Linked DNA regions of Homo sapiens: all the other regions are linked to region 3. Evidence: promoter capture Hi-C in 16 types of primary human blood cells and fetal thymus (Javierre and others, 2016). All regions are on one chromosome and are shown on one strand. The core of a region is centred on a gene start or on the middle of the fragment in contact, and the rest is flanking DNA. Distances in the headings are between cores, read along the strand shown. Region 1 holds the start of ZNF239 (zinc finger protein 239). Region 2 holds the start of ZNF32 (zinc finger protein 32). Region 3 holds the start of ZNF25 (zinc finger protein 25).

Evidence for each region. The method cuts DNA at HindIII sites, captures the fragments that hold promoters and counts their contacts. A CHiCAGO score of 5 or more calls a contact.
Region 1: the fragment with the promoter of ZNF239 here is called in contact with the fragment with the promoter of ZNF25 in region 3 in 1 of 17 cell types (non-activated CD4 T cells); the score reaches 5.4 in non-activated CD4 T cells.
Region 2: the fragment with the promoter of ZNF32 here is called in contact with the fragment with the promoter of ZNF25 in region 3 in 3 of 17 cell types (total CD4 T cells, monocytes and non-activated CD4 T cells); the score reaches 7.6 in total CD4 T cells.

Annotation. Positions count from the first base shown.
Region 1 is chr10:43,572,807-43,577,134 of GRCh38, reverse strand. It overlaps ZNF239 (zinc finger protein 239), which reads left to right and starts at 2,519. Exons shown (of 4, transcript NM_001099282.2): 1 at 2,519-2,595; 2 at 3,458-3,498. RefSeq lists a silencer at 2,737-2,796. The HindIII fragment of the contact is 4,716 bases long and covers 1-3,142 here.
Region 2 is chr10:43,647,256-43,651,332 of GRCh38, reverse strand. It overlaps ZNF32 (zinc finger protein 32), which reads left to right and starts at 2,452. Exons shown (of 3, transcript NM_006973.3): 1 at 2,452-2,531. All of the region lies in intron 1 of ZNF32-AS3 (ZNF32 antisense RNA 3), which reads right to left. ZNF32-AS2 (ZNF32 antisense RNA 2) reads right to left here. Exons shown (of 3, transcript NR_047558.1): 3 at 3,314-3,764. RefSeq lists a silencer at 2,427-2,946. The HindIII fragment of the contact is 4,172 bases long and covers 1-3,287 here.
Region 3 is chr10:37,973,520-37,978,003 of GRCh38, reverse strand. ZNF25 (zinc finger protein 25) reads left to right here and starts at 1,357. Exons shown (of 6, transcript NM_145011.4): 1 at 1,357-1,498. It overlaps ZNF25-DT (ZNF25 divergent transcript), which reads right to left and starts at 1,249. Exons shown (of 6, transcript XR_930830.4): 1 at 999-1,249. RefSeq lists enhancers at 1,114-1,343, 2,384-2,473 and a silencer at 1,384-1,793. The HindIII fragment of the contact is 11,670 bases long and covers 1-4,484 here.

The sequences.
Region 1 (4,328 bases), core at 1,270-3,769, 5.6 Mb before region 3:
AGAAAAGAAATTGGAAACATCCCTTAGGGACAATTTTTTTAGGAGTTTTGCTGTAAAGCAAAGCAGAGAAATGAGGTAGTGGCTGGAGAGAAATAGGGTGCAAGGTAAGGGGTTTTATTTATTTTATGGACAATATTACAGTGTATTCATTAGTATGCTGATAATTCAGTACAGAATGAAAATCTTGAAATACAGAAGAGAGAGAAGGACCTCATTCATGAGAAAGCATTTAACATCCAGGGTGCAAAAGAATTTTCTCATATAGGAACTAGGGCCAGTGACTCAGAATGAAAAGTAGAGCATACAGTTTCTAATGCAGAGAGGAGGGCAGATGTGCCTGTGAGGCGGTATAGAAGTTCTCTTTACTCAGTAACAGAAAGCAAAGTCATCAGCACTCAGTGAGATGGGAGGAGTTGTTGGCGGCTTGAAAAGAGAGTAGAAGACCAGGCATGGTGGCTCAGCCTGTAATCCCAGCACTTTGGGAGGCTGAGGTGGGACGATCGCTTGATCCCAGGAGGTGGAGACCAGCCCGAACAACATGGTGAAACTTCATCTCTTAAAAAAAAAAATACAAAAATTAGCCTGGTGTGGTGGCGCAAGCCTATAGTCCCAGCTACTTAGGAGGCTGAGGTGGGAGGGTTGCTTGTGCCCAGGAAGCAGAGATTGCAGTCAGCCAAGATCGCACTACTGAACTCCAGCCTGGCTCAAAAAAATAAATAAATAAATAATGAAAAGAGAGTAGAACCTGTGAAATAGTCATTTAGGAGAATGGATGGACTAAGAAATGTAGAAGGATAGCCAGGCAGCGTGAAGGGCCCACTTGAACTTAATGGTTATAAACTGAAAATGAAACCAATCATCCCAGCCATGTGGTTTTCTCAAACAACCTCTGCCGTACAGGCGCAGGCCAGGAACTGGATTCAAGCAGATTTGGGTTTCCATCAAGAGAATAAAACCAAGAAAGACTGGGACAAGAGAGTTAAGGGTAACGGCACATACACAGGACTGGCCATAACCATGCTCCATGGCCTCTTAAATTGAGTGAGGAGAGAAGTGAGCACATGAGGAAGTGAAGGTCAGGGCAAGGGTGGTAAATCTAAATAGGGAAAAGCTCTGTGGTTTTCCAATGAAGAATGAGGAGAGGAGTAAGGTCCAAGGGAGACATTTTGTGTTCCCCAGGCAAAAGGTAAGACAGCATCTCTGAGGAGGAGACCGAAGGGGACGTGGGCCTCTCCAAGCATCGCAGGCTGAAAATAATAGTCCCCCAAATATGTCCATGTCCTAACCCCCAGAAGCTGTGGATGTTAATTTCTATGGCAAGAGGGATTTTTTTTGAAATGTGATTAAATTAAGGATCTTGACGTCAAGAGATTATCCCAGATTAGCCAGCTGGGCCTGATGTAATCACAACAGTCGTTATTAGAAGGACCCACGAGGAGCCAGTGCCTGAGCATGTGATGTGATGATGAAGGCAGAGGTTGCAGTCATGCACTTTGAAGATAAAGGAGCGAGCCATAAGCCAAGGAATGCAAATAGTCACTGGGAACTGGAAAAGGCAAAGAAATATTCTCATCTAGAACCTCCAGGAGGAACTAGCCCCACCAACACTGACTTTATAAAGCCCAGTAAAACTTGATTTCAGACTTGGCACCTCCAGAAGTTTAAGAGAATACATGTTTGTTATACTACTAAGTTTGTGTTAATTTGTTGTGACAGCAATTGGAAACTAATACACCAAGGAAGGGGGAGGATGTAGAAGAGAGGTCCAGGCAACATCTCTTTCCTCTCCAAAATAAATCTGAAAGAAAGGAATTGGGAAAAGACCAAATGGGTAGCTCTGTGTCACTCGGTGAGAAGTGAAATAAACGTAAAATCCTGGTATCAACAACCCTTGTGTGCGTTTAGGAGAGTTCTGACTGCTGGGAGCCACTTGTCTAATTCCCTCACCTCCTGTGTTTGTTCCAAGATCCCCTATTTAAAATTGCAAAGTACACCTCCAGTCCTACACACCCACAAACGCACCTCGCCACACCCCGCCCAGCTCTATGCTTTCAGTACCACCTCATGACACACACGACGCCATATATTTACTATATTTATGGATTGCTTGTTTCCCCAACTAGAATAGGGCAGTGACTTTTGTGCAAGCATCTTGAACAGCTCCTGGTACACAGTTGGCTCTCAATTAATATCTGTTAAATGGATGAACTTCAGAGGTGAGATGGAAGATGCCGAATGGCAAATATTCACTTCAGAATGTTTTGAAAGGTAAAGATGAAATTATGGGTATTTACATCCTTTTCCCCCAATAGTATTTTAACAAATGAAAATCACCTTAACAGGTATTCCTAAAATAATTCTTATTTGTTTGTAATAAAAAACGAGGAGGAGGACTTGAATACACGCGTCGCTGACTCAAAGATGGTCCCCTCCGCCCAAGAATCCCGCTCCGCACAGCGCAGAGTTCAGGGGCCCGCGCCGGAAGTGGGCGTGGTTCGCCCGCGGCTTGCTGGGACTTGTATTTCGGGGCCCTAGGCGCGCGAGCGGTCAGCATCCGGAATCTGGCCCCTGCAGGCGTGGGGTTCCACGTGGGAGGTGAGACTGGCCGGGCTTCCCCAGCCGCTGGCAGAGGCGTTCAGGGGTCAGGAAATGGGTGTGCCGCGGGTAAGGCGCTGGGCCGCCGAGCTGCGGAAGCCGGGAGGGCGGCGATGGTAGGGCACGCGACCAGCGGAGGCGCGGCCCGCGGCGGCACGTGTGTCCCGGCGCCGCATTTCCGAGCTGCTGCGCCCCCGGGGCCGGGCTGCGGCCACACCGAAGCCTGTGGGGCCCTGCAGCTGAGCGGCCGCGCCTCCGATGGCCCCTCCTCCCTCCTGGCCGAGCTCTGGCCTGGGCCGGCTGGGGGCTTCGTGGTTGGCCACGCCGGCCTTTTCCTCGCCTGTGACGGGCGTTATTGCAGGGGGGTTTTCGGTGGACGTTAGGCGACGGACGGGGGCTCCTGTAAGAGACTGAGGTTTCTGTCCGCAGCACTGCCTTCGCTGAAAAGAGCTTGCATCTGAGCCCCCGCACCGCAGGAACGAGCCAGGCTCCTGAGAATGAGGTCGGGGAAGGCGTCTTGGGCAACCGAAATCCATCCCGAGAAGCTTCTCCTCTTAACTAGAACTTTAGGACAGAGATCGGGAAAGTCAGAGGAAATGGGCACGGCTTCGAGCTGCCGGCGGCTGCGGAATTTACCTAGCCTCTTGGTTTTGGGGGGAAAACTTGGCTTGTTTAATCGAAAGCCCTGTGGAGAGAGATGAAGGTGGTGACAGAAAATGCTTCACCTCTCACCTGATGGAGGGAGTGTGGGTGGAAGTGACTGAAGAAGCGTCAGAGGCAGGAGCGGAGTAACTTTTTCCCCGCAGTCTTGCTGGACTTGATTTTCATGGCTTTTTCTCTTTCCCTAACTCTGCCTTTCCAGGAATCCATCCCCTCTGGGAGTAAGAAATGACCAGGGTCCGGGTGAGTTGGCGTTCCATTTCTCCTAAAATGCCATCTCCCTGAAATGTCCCTGTGCCATGTGTTGTTTTCTTTATTGTCAGGCCCCCAGTACGGTATTTTATAGCTATGGATGTAGGGACATTAAGATACTAAGGACATGTAGCTAGCAGATGATGTCACCAGGGTCTGCACAGAGAGTTTTCACTGGCCCATCCTGCCTCCAAGAATTTATTCCACTCCTCAGAGCAGTGGGCTGTGCCCTCCTGGGGAGCCTCTCAAAGCCTGCCTTTTCCTGCCAGACATTTCACTCACATTGAAAGTCATTCCAAGCTATTCCATACTCATCCCAGTGCTAAGTGGTCTCAGCAAAACAGATAGAATGATAAACCACGGTGCTTTTCTTCAAGGAGCTTACCATCTTGATGAACATATTATATTACCTGTACACAAAAAAATGCATATTAATAGTGATAATTTATTAACTATGAGTCAAAAACGAGGAAATTCGTTAAATGGCAGCACAGTGGTTACAAAATCACTCTAGAAATGCTTTTCAACTAGGCTATGCATCAGAACTCTCTGTGGTGTTTTTTAAGAACTAAGCTTCCTTCTCTCTTCCAGACCTAGTGAAAGGAGAGTTTCACTCCTTTTTTATTCTGTTGATCTTTGTACATCCAAAGGTTTATTGTGAAATATCTCTCTATACACTATAAGTGTCTCTAGGGTAGGTAAAATGAGTTATTCATCCTTTATACTCAGGTTGATTTGTTCTCTTTCACTAGCATGTCTACATATTTAACTGTTCCAGTAAATTTTAAATTACCAAGTCGTACTTTTTTAAAGAGAGTTTT
Region 2 (4,077 bases), core at 1,203-3,702, 5.7 Mb before region 3:
CCTATCAGAGCAGTCATCTCAATTTACACACGGACAGACATGTCCACTTCCCCAGTCTCCTTTGCAATCTTTGCCATTTAGTACTTGGGAAGTAATTTTCATTTGTTTCAATTGGAAATTTTATAAAATGAATAATGAATGTATTTTCCTTTCATTTGTGTGTGTGTGAGTTGCTGTCCTTTGCCACATTTCTAGTGAACTGTCTTTTTCTTATTGATTTGTATGGTGTCTTTAAGTATGACGATTGCTAATATTTTCCCAGCTTGTCACATGTTAACTTCATTTAGTGGTACTTTGGCCACACAGAAGTGCTGGATTTAAATCTTCTTCCTTATTGTTTCTGCCTTTGTTACATTGGTTAAGAAAGCCTTCCCTGGCAGAGCTTGCAGTGAGCCGAGATAGCGCCACTGCACTCCAGCCTGGGCGACTGAGTGAGACTCCATCTCAAAAAAAAAACAAAAATGAAAGCCTTCCCTATGACAAGATTATAAGAAGATTAATCCATGTGTTCTTCTGGGCCTTTGTGGCTCTGTGTTTCCCATTTTACATTAATCCATCTGGAGGTTCTCTTGGCATGGGAGTTAGGTAAACATTCAACTCCCCGACCCCACCAATGTCTAGCCCTTGTCATAACACCATTTATTGAATTATCTGTCCTTCCCCTAATATTTTGAAATGCCTGCAAAGTGAGGAAATTGTTCTTTGGTAATTTTTCAAATCTACACTGCGGATGATTTCCCTTTCACCCTCACCCCACACCCTCCCTTTTGTTGAGTATTTGCCTTAAGATGCAGGTGGTGGGTGAGGATGTGCCCCATTTTGCAGCTGGGCAGTCTGTCTATGGAGGCTGGGGTCACATCAACCCCAATCCTAACAGCTTTCTCCCCTGCTTTGGGCCCTTCAATGTGTCCACTTTCCTGAGACGCCTTAAGGGAATTTATGCAGATCTATAAAAGTGACGATGGTCCCCCCTCACAGCCACCTTTTCCCACCAATGCTTTGTCATGTACCTTCACGGCAGGATCTGAAACTTGTCCTAGTGTCCACAGCCGGTCTTGACCTTAACAGAACCTATGTACCCTTGTGTGAAGCAGAGGCCGCAGCCTTAGGACTCTGAGCCTTGGCCTTTGCTGTGTGCCGCCCTCCACCCCTTTCTCAGACTTGGGAGGAGTGAGGAGAGGAGCCACCTGGGGCAGTTCAGGAATGGGGAGCTTCAGGACAGTTTGCACCACACACTCTGGGACTTAGCTGTGCAACACCCCGACCCCCATGTGAGGAAGGTGGTGTTTGTTTGCTCCACCAGACTGTCAGCTCCTCCCTAGGAGCACGGAGTGTGTCTTGCTCACATTCGTATCCCCAGTGTCAGCACTTAAAATGGATTCAACGGATAAATGTTGAATGAAATTCAGAAATGATGTGCAATAGTAAAAGCTAACATTTAGGAATCAACTTATTACTTACAGACACCTTTGCATATTGAGTGAAATTAAGTTGTTTGATTTAACAAATCTGTGGCTTTGGGGTAGAGAACAAGAACATAGCAAGAGGAAGCATTCTTTATTAGTCCTTCACGAAAGAGGATGGACAGACACATCTACGGAGAGGGGCTCCAGAGGCAGGGACCCAGAGATACACCCGGCCAGGCAGAACAGCTCCAGGATGTGGCCCCGATCCTGGAAAAGTGCGTTTAAAAGAGGCTTAAGGCATATCAGACAGCCTGGCCAACATGGTAAAACCTTCATCTCTACTAAAAATACAAAAAAATTAGCCAGGCATGGTGGCACAGACCTGTAGTCCCAGCTACTTGGGAGGCTGGGGCAGGAGAATCACTTGAGCCCAGAAGGCGGAGGTTGCAGTGAGGCGACACCGTGCCACTGCACTCAAGCCTGGGAGACAGAGTGAAGGAAAAAAAAAAACAGGCATTATTAGAGAGGCTTTATCTCCTACGTGTTCAAAAGCAACCATGCTCCTCCCAGTATCTCAGGACGACTGGACTGCCTGTGTTCCTGTTGCTCTTCACAGAAGCTCCATGAAAGCGGGCTTCGCTTTTGTTCATGCAGCCAGAGGCTCAACACATGACCTCGAAGCCGCCAAGGCTTTATCAAACGGATTTCTCCCAAAAACTTCGTTTCCTTCCGCGACGCCCTGCAAGAACCCTGTATTCCTGAGTCCCTGGCTCAGCGTCTGCTACCCCGATGCTGTCAATCAGATCCTGCTAATCTGAGCGGCCGTGGCTCCGTCCCGGCTCCGCGTCCGCTGACAGGTCACCGCTGTGAGTCTCCGGATTACCAGTCCAAACGGGACGGCTTGAGGTCCCCGCGCCCTAGGGACCTGCGGGGCCCGAGCGCAGGGCGCGCCAGAGAACTACATTTCCCACAGAGCTCTTGGGAAGCCGGGGCCGCCGAGACCCACGGCCCGGCGGGCGGGCTCGCGGGGAGACTCCTGGGAGTTGTAGTCCATTCCGCCGGCGCCGGCGCTGGCGCTGCTGCGGGCTCGGCGCCGGCCTTTGTCTGCGGGCACGCGCCGCTGCGGTGAGTGAGGCCGCTGGCCGGGTCAGAGCGCCGGGGCAAGGCGGGGCTGCGCCATCAGACCGCTGTCCCGGGCCCTCCGTGTGGCCGCCTTATGCCAGCGGCCGCCAAGGAAATGAGCAGGCCTGGCCGGCCCGGGCCCCGAGGGAGGCCAGCCGCGAGCGGAGAGGTCGGCGGTCCGCAGAGCAGGGTCCCGTGGACCGGAGAGCGGGATGCCGAGGTTCAGGACGCAGGGCGGGCCCGGTGCCCGGGGCCCGGGGCCTGAGGCGGGAGGGCAGCGTCTGCGGAGAGGAGCAGGGCCCATGGCGTCGGGGCGTGGGAGGGGGAGGCCGCGGCAGGCTCACCCGGCCTCCGTGCGGGCTTCAGCGAGTGCGGGAAGCCGGTGCCGGCCTTCCGGGGTGGGAGGAGAGGCAGCCCCTGCGGGGGAGAGTAGGAAGCCAGGCAGCGTGTGGGAAACCACGCTACCCACAAGCTCCTAAACCTGAAACTGGCCCCAGGACATTTTCCAGACCGCCAAGTGTACCCCTCTTCTCATCCGCCCTCCAGAGGACGCCGGATTTTAGATCTTAAGTCTGGTGGTCTCGTCTGATACTCCTCTTGTTTGGTTCTTTCCTTCTCATTGTCCTACCTGATAGGACAGTGTTAGTAACCTGTTTAATAAGTGGGGAAGCAGAGTCAGGGCTGCTGGGTTACTCGCCCAAGATCATATCCTGGGGGAGCCACGGCAAGAAGCCAAGACTCACGGACTACTTCTAAGCTTTTTCCAAAGGATATAGTAGCCTTTCTAATAGGAAAATCAATGTTTTTAATTATAAAGCCACTTTTACAAAATCTTGGGGAAACTGCTTCCTCAGACCTGTGATCTAGGGAGAAAAATATGACAATTTCTCCCTTACTAATCACGGAGGTCCCTGATAGGCGGCGGAGTTGTAACTTGAAGACCTCACAGCAGGTGGAGAGGCAGAGCTGTGAATTCTACTCTAATTTCTGGAATCCCCGGCGACAGAGTCCAACCCCAGGCAGCAGGCGCCATGTACCCCAGGGACTTTTAATGTGTGTGCAGCTGTTGAGCAAGAATACCTTGAACTTCCAAATGATGTGCTGGCATGCTGGTAGGGAATTCCTTTGCAGCTTGTGTTCCAAGTTGGAAGTGAGTCCTCCAAATAAAAATTTAAATGATTCTCCTGGTCATCACAGCATGTAGCAGAATGTGCAGTTGTCAAGAAGAACCAGGTGCTTAGGTTGACAAAACAAAGAATGGTAGCATCATACTATTATTTCATTAAATCAGAAGGCCAGCATTTTGATAGGACAAATTAGAGGGAAACAAGGAGTATGCATTGAACCACTGCATTTCTTAAAAGTATAAGAATTCAGTAATTAGGATCCTGAAGTAAGAAGAAATATTTTTTTTAAAAAATAGATCATGTGGGCCAGGTGTAGTAGCTCATGCCTACATGTCTTGGGAGGCCGAGGCAGGAGGGTCACTTCAGGCCAAGAGTTGGAGACCAGCCTGGGCAGGATAATGAGACCCGATCTCTACAAAAAA
Region 3 (4,484 bases), core at 108-2,607:
AATTAACTAACACTGATGGCTACCCTAATTATCAGGTGAATTTCAGATGAATTATGCATAGCAAATGTTGCTGTACAGTCATCTTACTTGAGGACAAGTTATTTTTACCTTGAGGAAATAGAATGCGTTGTACCAGACCGGCTAATACAAAAAATGATAGTTCTTCCTGTCTTCATAAACTCATTAGTGGGTTGCCTGTGACGCACATCGCAGTCTGGTTTAATGTTTATTCAATAATGTAACTGTTTTGTTCTTTTCTCCATCTGTGGAGAGAATTTTCTGGGTTGGCAAGAGGCTTTATTTTAAATTATTTCCTCAATACTTCCCATCCAGAAAGGTGGTGTGTGTGTGTGTATTATGTGCGCATATTTTTATATGTATATATATGTGTGTTTATACACATGACAATATATACGTTTTTTTCTAGATGATTCTACATGTTTTAATGTAATAAAGTTATTGACCAGGAAATATATAATTTGTTTTACATATACAGCCAAGTCCTCTCTCTGTATCCGCGGGGGATTAGTACCAGGACCTCCCTGGATTACTCAAATCCAGGGATGTTCAAGTCTCTGGTAGAAAATAACCTGATATTTGCATAACCTACACACCTCCTCCTGTATATTTTAAATTATGTCTAGATTAATTGTACACCTAACACAATGTAAATACTATGTAAATAGTTTTATTGTATTGTTTAGGGTATAATGACAAGGGGGAAACTTTGTACATGTTCAGTAAGATAGAATTTTTAAGTATTTTCATTCTGAGCTTAGTTGAATCCATAGATATGCACCCCCAGGATAAGGAGGGATGACTATATATATTCCTTAGTGAAATGATAGTCATGATACTCTATACCATTAGGTTAAAATTTGTGTAAATTCATGAGAAGGATGTTCACCTAACATTAAGCGCTTTTGCTTTTGGGAAGTGGTATACTCGTTTTCTGTTTTAGCTTATACATATTTTGTAGTTTATTACGTTTCGCGTACCGTTTGCACAATTGTGAAAGCTAGCATTCCTAAGAGGAAGCGGTTACAGGGCATTATCCTTCATTACTCCACGTACTCCTGTACCCACGGAGTTCAATCACTTTAACAAAACTGCCCATCAGTGTTCCTTGGAGCACCTCACGGTGGATTTCTGTCTTCAAGCCCAGACGTGCAGGGTGCAGCTCTCCGGCCATCACTGAGCAAGGACAGCGCCCTCTCCCGGAAACCCGACAGCAATCACTCAGGCCGCTGGAGGCGGCCGCGCCTCACGACGTCATCCAAGATGGAGTCGCAGCCGGGCCTTCTGGGAAGCGTAGTTCTGGAGTAGGGCTAGGGAAACGTTCTGCGCATGTGCAGTGTCTTCTTTCTGGCATTGGCGTTTTTTTGGTCTTACGCCCTAGGGTGGGGAGAGGACTCCGGTGCCTCCGGGTCTGGGCTGGGCCGCAAAGGGCGGGGCCTGGGCCCGGCGCGGGCCGGGAGCAGAGGCCGAGACCCTGCAGGTGTGTCGAAGGCTTTTGCGGGCGGGCAGGGCCTGGGAGGCGGGGTCTCGAGCCTGGAAGCCGCCTCCTGGCCCCGGAGCGGCCTCCGCGGAGGGCCCTGGGTGGGAGCCGCCTGGTGGGGAGGTTGGCTGGCTGCGCTGGCGCCCCTGCCCGGAATGGCGTTTGCGCGACCTGCTTGAGGGGCGGCCAGAGGAGGCCTGCGGTGCTGGGCAGTGGGCGCCCGGAGCAGCCGCATTGTGTGACGTGACCGGAGCCGCCATGTGAGGCGCGCTGGCCGCTGCAGACGCGGCGCTCCAAAGCCGCAGGGACGTGGGCTCTGGTCCAGCGTCTGTAGGTGGTCCCAGTGCGGCTCGACGCGCATCTGGCAAATGATGGGGGCCTTTGGGTACTGAATAGGGTAATAGATGTAAAGTATGATACAGGACTCAATAAAGGTGAGCTGCTTCTATTATTACAAAACATGCTGTTTTCATTATTGGCTCATTTAATCATCGTAACCATCCTTTCGACTTAACCATCTCTATTAAAATAAATGTGACTATTAAAGATTCAGAGAGAGAAATCCGTTTACCCACAGTATTAGCAGGTGGGATGTAAATCCTCACTTTTTCCTCTGAGTTAATGCGCCTTGCCACACTAAAATCCAGTCTTGACTTGTATTTAGCACAGCATTTGCCCCTTGAGCACCACCAGAACGTAGCTGTGTGGTGTACTTGAACCCAGTCTCAACCAGGTAGTGTTCTGTTTCCAAAAATGCTTGGGGAATCTTCAGAGCACTTGAGTCAAAAGGTGAATTATTTAAGGCCTTCCTGCATCCTCCAACCTTAGTCTCTTCTCAGAGGACTGTGAAACGTGTAAATTGAAACCACAATTTGAGCCCTCAATTTTGCATTTTACAGGAGAAGCTGGGAATCCCATCCAGCCCAGAGGCTAGTTTCTAAAGACAGGAAATGGGACAAAAAATTTTTTTAAAGATGAAAACTGCAGTTCATCAGTTCCTCCATTTTATGGTGGTGATCTTATAATGCCTCTCATTGGCTGATAACTGAGCTTAGGCATTTCGTAAGCACCATGCTAGCTGGAAGTGGTTTTTGCTGCTTATTTTAGTTTTTTTTTTTGGTACATAATGTACATATTTGTGGGGTACATGTGATATTTTGATATATGCATACAATGTGTCATGATCAAATCGGGGTAATTACAATATCCACCGCCTCATTTATCATTTCTTTGTGTTGCAAATATTCGAAATCTTCTAGCTATTCTGATAGCTAATAAATTATTGCTAACACTTGTAACCATACTGTGCTATTGAACACTAGGACTTAATCCTTCTACCTAACTGTATTTTTGTACCCATTAACCAACCTCTCTTCATTCCTCACTCCCTACTTCCCTTCGCAGCCTCTGGTAACCATCATTCTACATCGTATCTTCATGAGATCAACTATCTTAGCTCCTGCGTATGAGTGAGAACATGATATTTGTCTTTCTGTGCCTGGCTTATTTCATGTAACATAATGCCCTCCAGTTCCATCTTTGTTGCTGCAATGACAAAATTTCCTTCTTTTTATGTCTGAATAATATTCCATTGTGTATATATACCACAATTTTCATTATCTATTCATGCATTGATGGGTACTTAGGTGGATTCTGTATCTAGACTATTGTGAATAGTGCTGCGATAAAAATGGGAGTGCAGAGATATCTTCAATATACGGATTTCCCTTCTTTTGGATATATATATAGCAGTGAGATTGCTAGATCATATGGTAATTCTGTTTTCAATTTTTTGAGGAACCTCCATACTGTTTTCCACAGTGGCTGTACTAGTTTACATTGCCACCAAGGTTGTATGAGGGTTCTCCTTTCTCTATATCCCAGCATTTGTTATTTTTTTGCCTTTTTTATAATAGCTGTTTTAAGGGGTAAAATGATATCCCATTATGGTTTTGATTTGCATTTGTCTGATGATTAATGATGTTGAAGATTTTATCGTATACCTATTGGCCATTTGTATGTCTTCTATTGTGGAATGTCTGTTCAGATCATTTGCTCAATTTTTTTAAATCAAATTTTTTGTTTTCTGACTGTTGAGTTCCTTGTATATTCTGGTTATTAATTCCTTGTCAGATGGGTAGTTTGCAAATATTTTCTCCTATTCTTTGGGTGTCTTTTCACTGTTATTGCTTACTTTGCTGTGCTGAAACTTTTTCGTTTGATGTAATCCCATTCATCTATTTTTGCCTTTGTTGCTTGTGCTTTTGAGGTCTTACCAAAAAATTTTTGCCGAGAACAATGTTCTGAAGCATTTCCAAATGTTTTCTTCAAGTAGTTTCATAGTTTCAGGTCATACATTTAACTCTTTAATCCACTATCATTTGATTTTTGCATATGATGAGAGACAGGGGTTTAGTTTCATTCTTCTGCGTATGGATATCCAGTTTTCTCAGCACCATTTATTGAAGAAACTGTCATTTCTCCAATGTATGTTCTTAGTGCCTTTGTCAAAAATGAAATTGGCTATAAATGCATGTATTTATTTCTCAATTCTCTTTTTCATTGATCTATGTGTCTCTTTTTATGCCAGTAACCTACTGTTTTGTTTACTATAGCTTTATAGTATATTTTGAAGTCTGGTAGTACAATGCCTCCACCTTTGTTCTTTTTGCACAAAATTGCTTTGGCTACTCGGGGTCTTTGGTGGTTCCATATAAATTTTAGGATTTTTTTTCCTATTTCTGTGAAGAATGTCATTGGTATTTGGATATGGATTGCATTTAATCTGTAGACTGCTTTTAGTACTATGGACATTTTAACAATATTAATTCTGCCAGTCCATGAGCATGGGATATCTTTCCATTTTAATATCATTCATCAGTGTTTTATACTCTTTTTTTTTTTTTTTTGAGACAAGGGCTCAGTTTGGTGCAATCTTGGCTCACTGCAACCTCTGTCTCCCAGGGTCAAGCGATTCTCCTGCCTC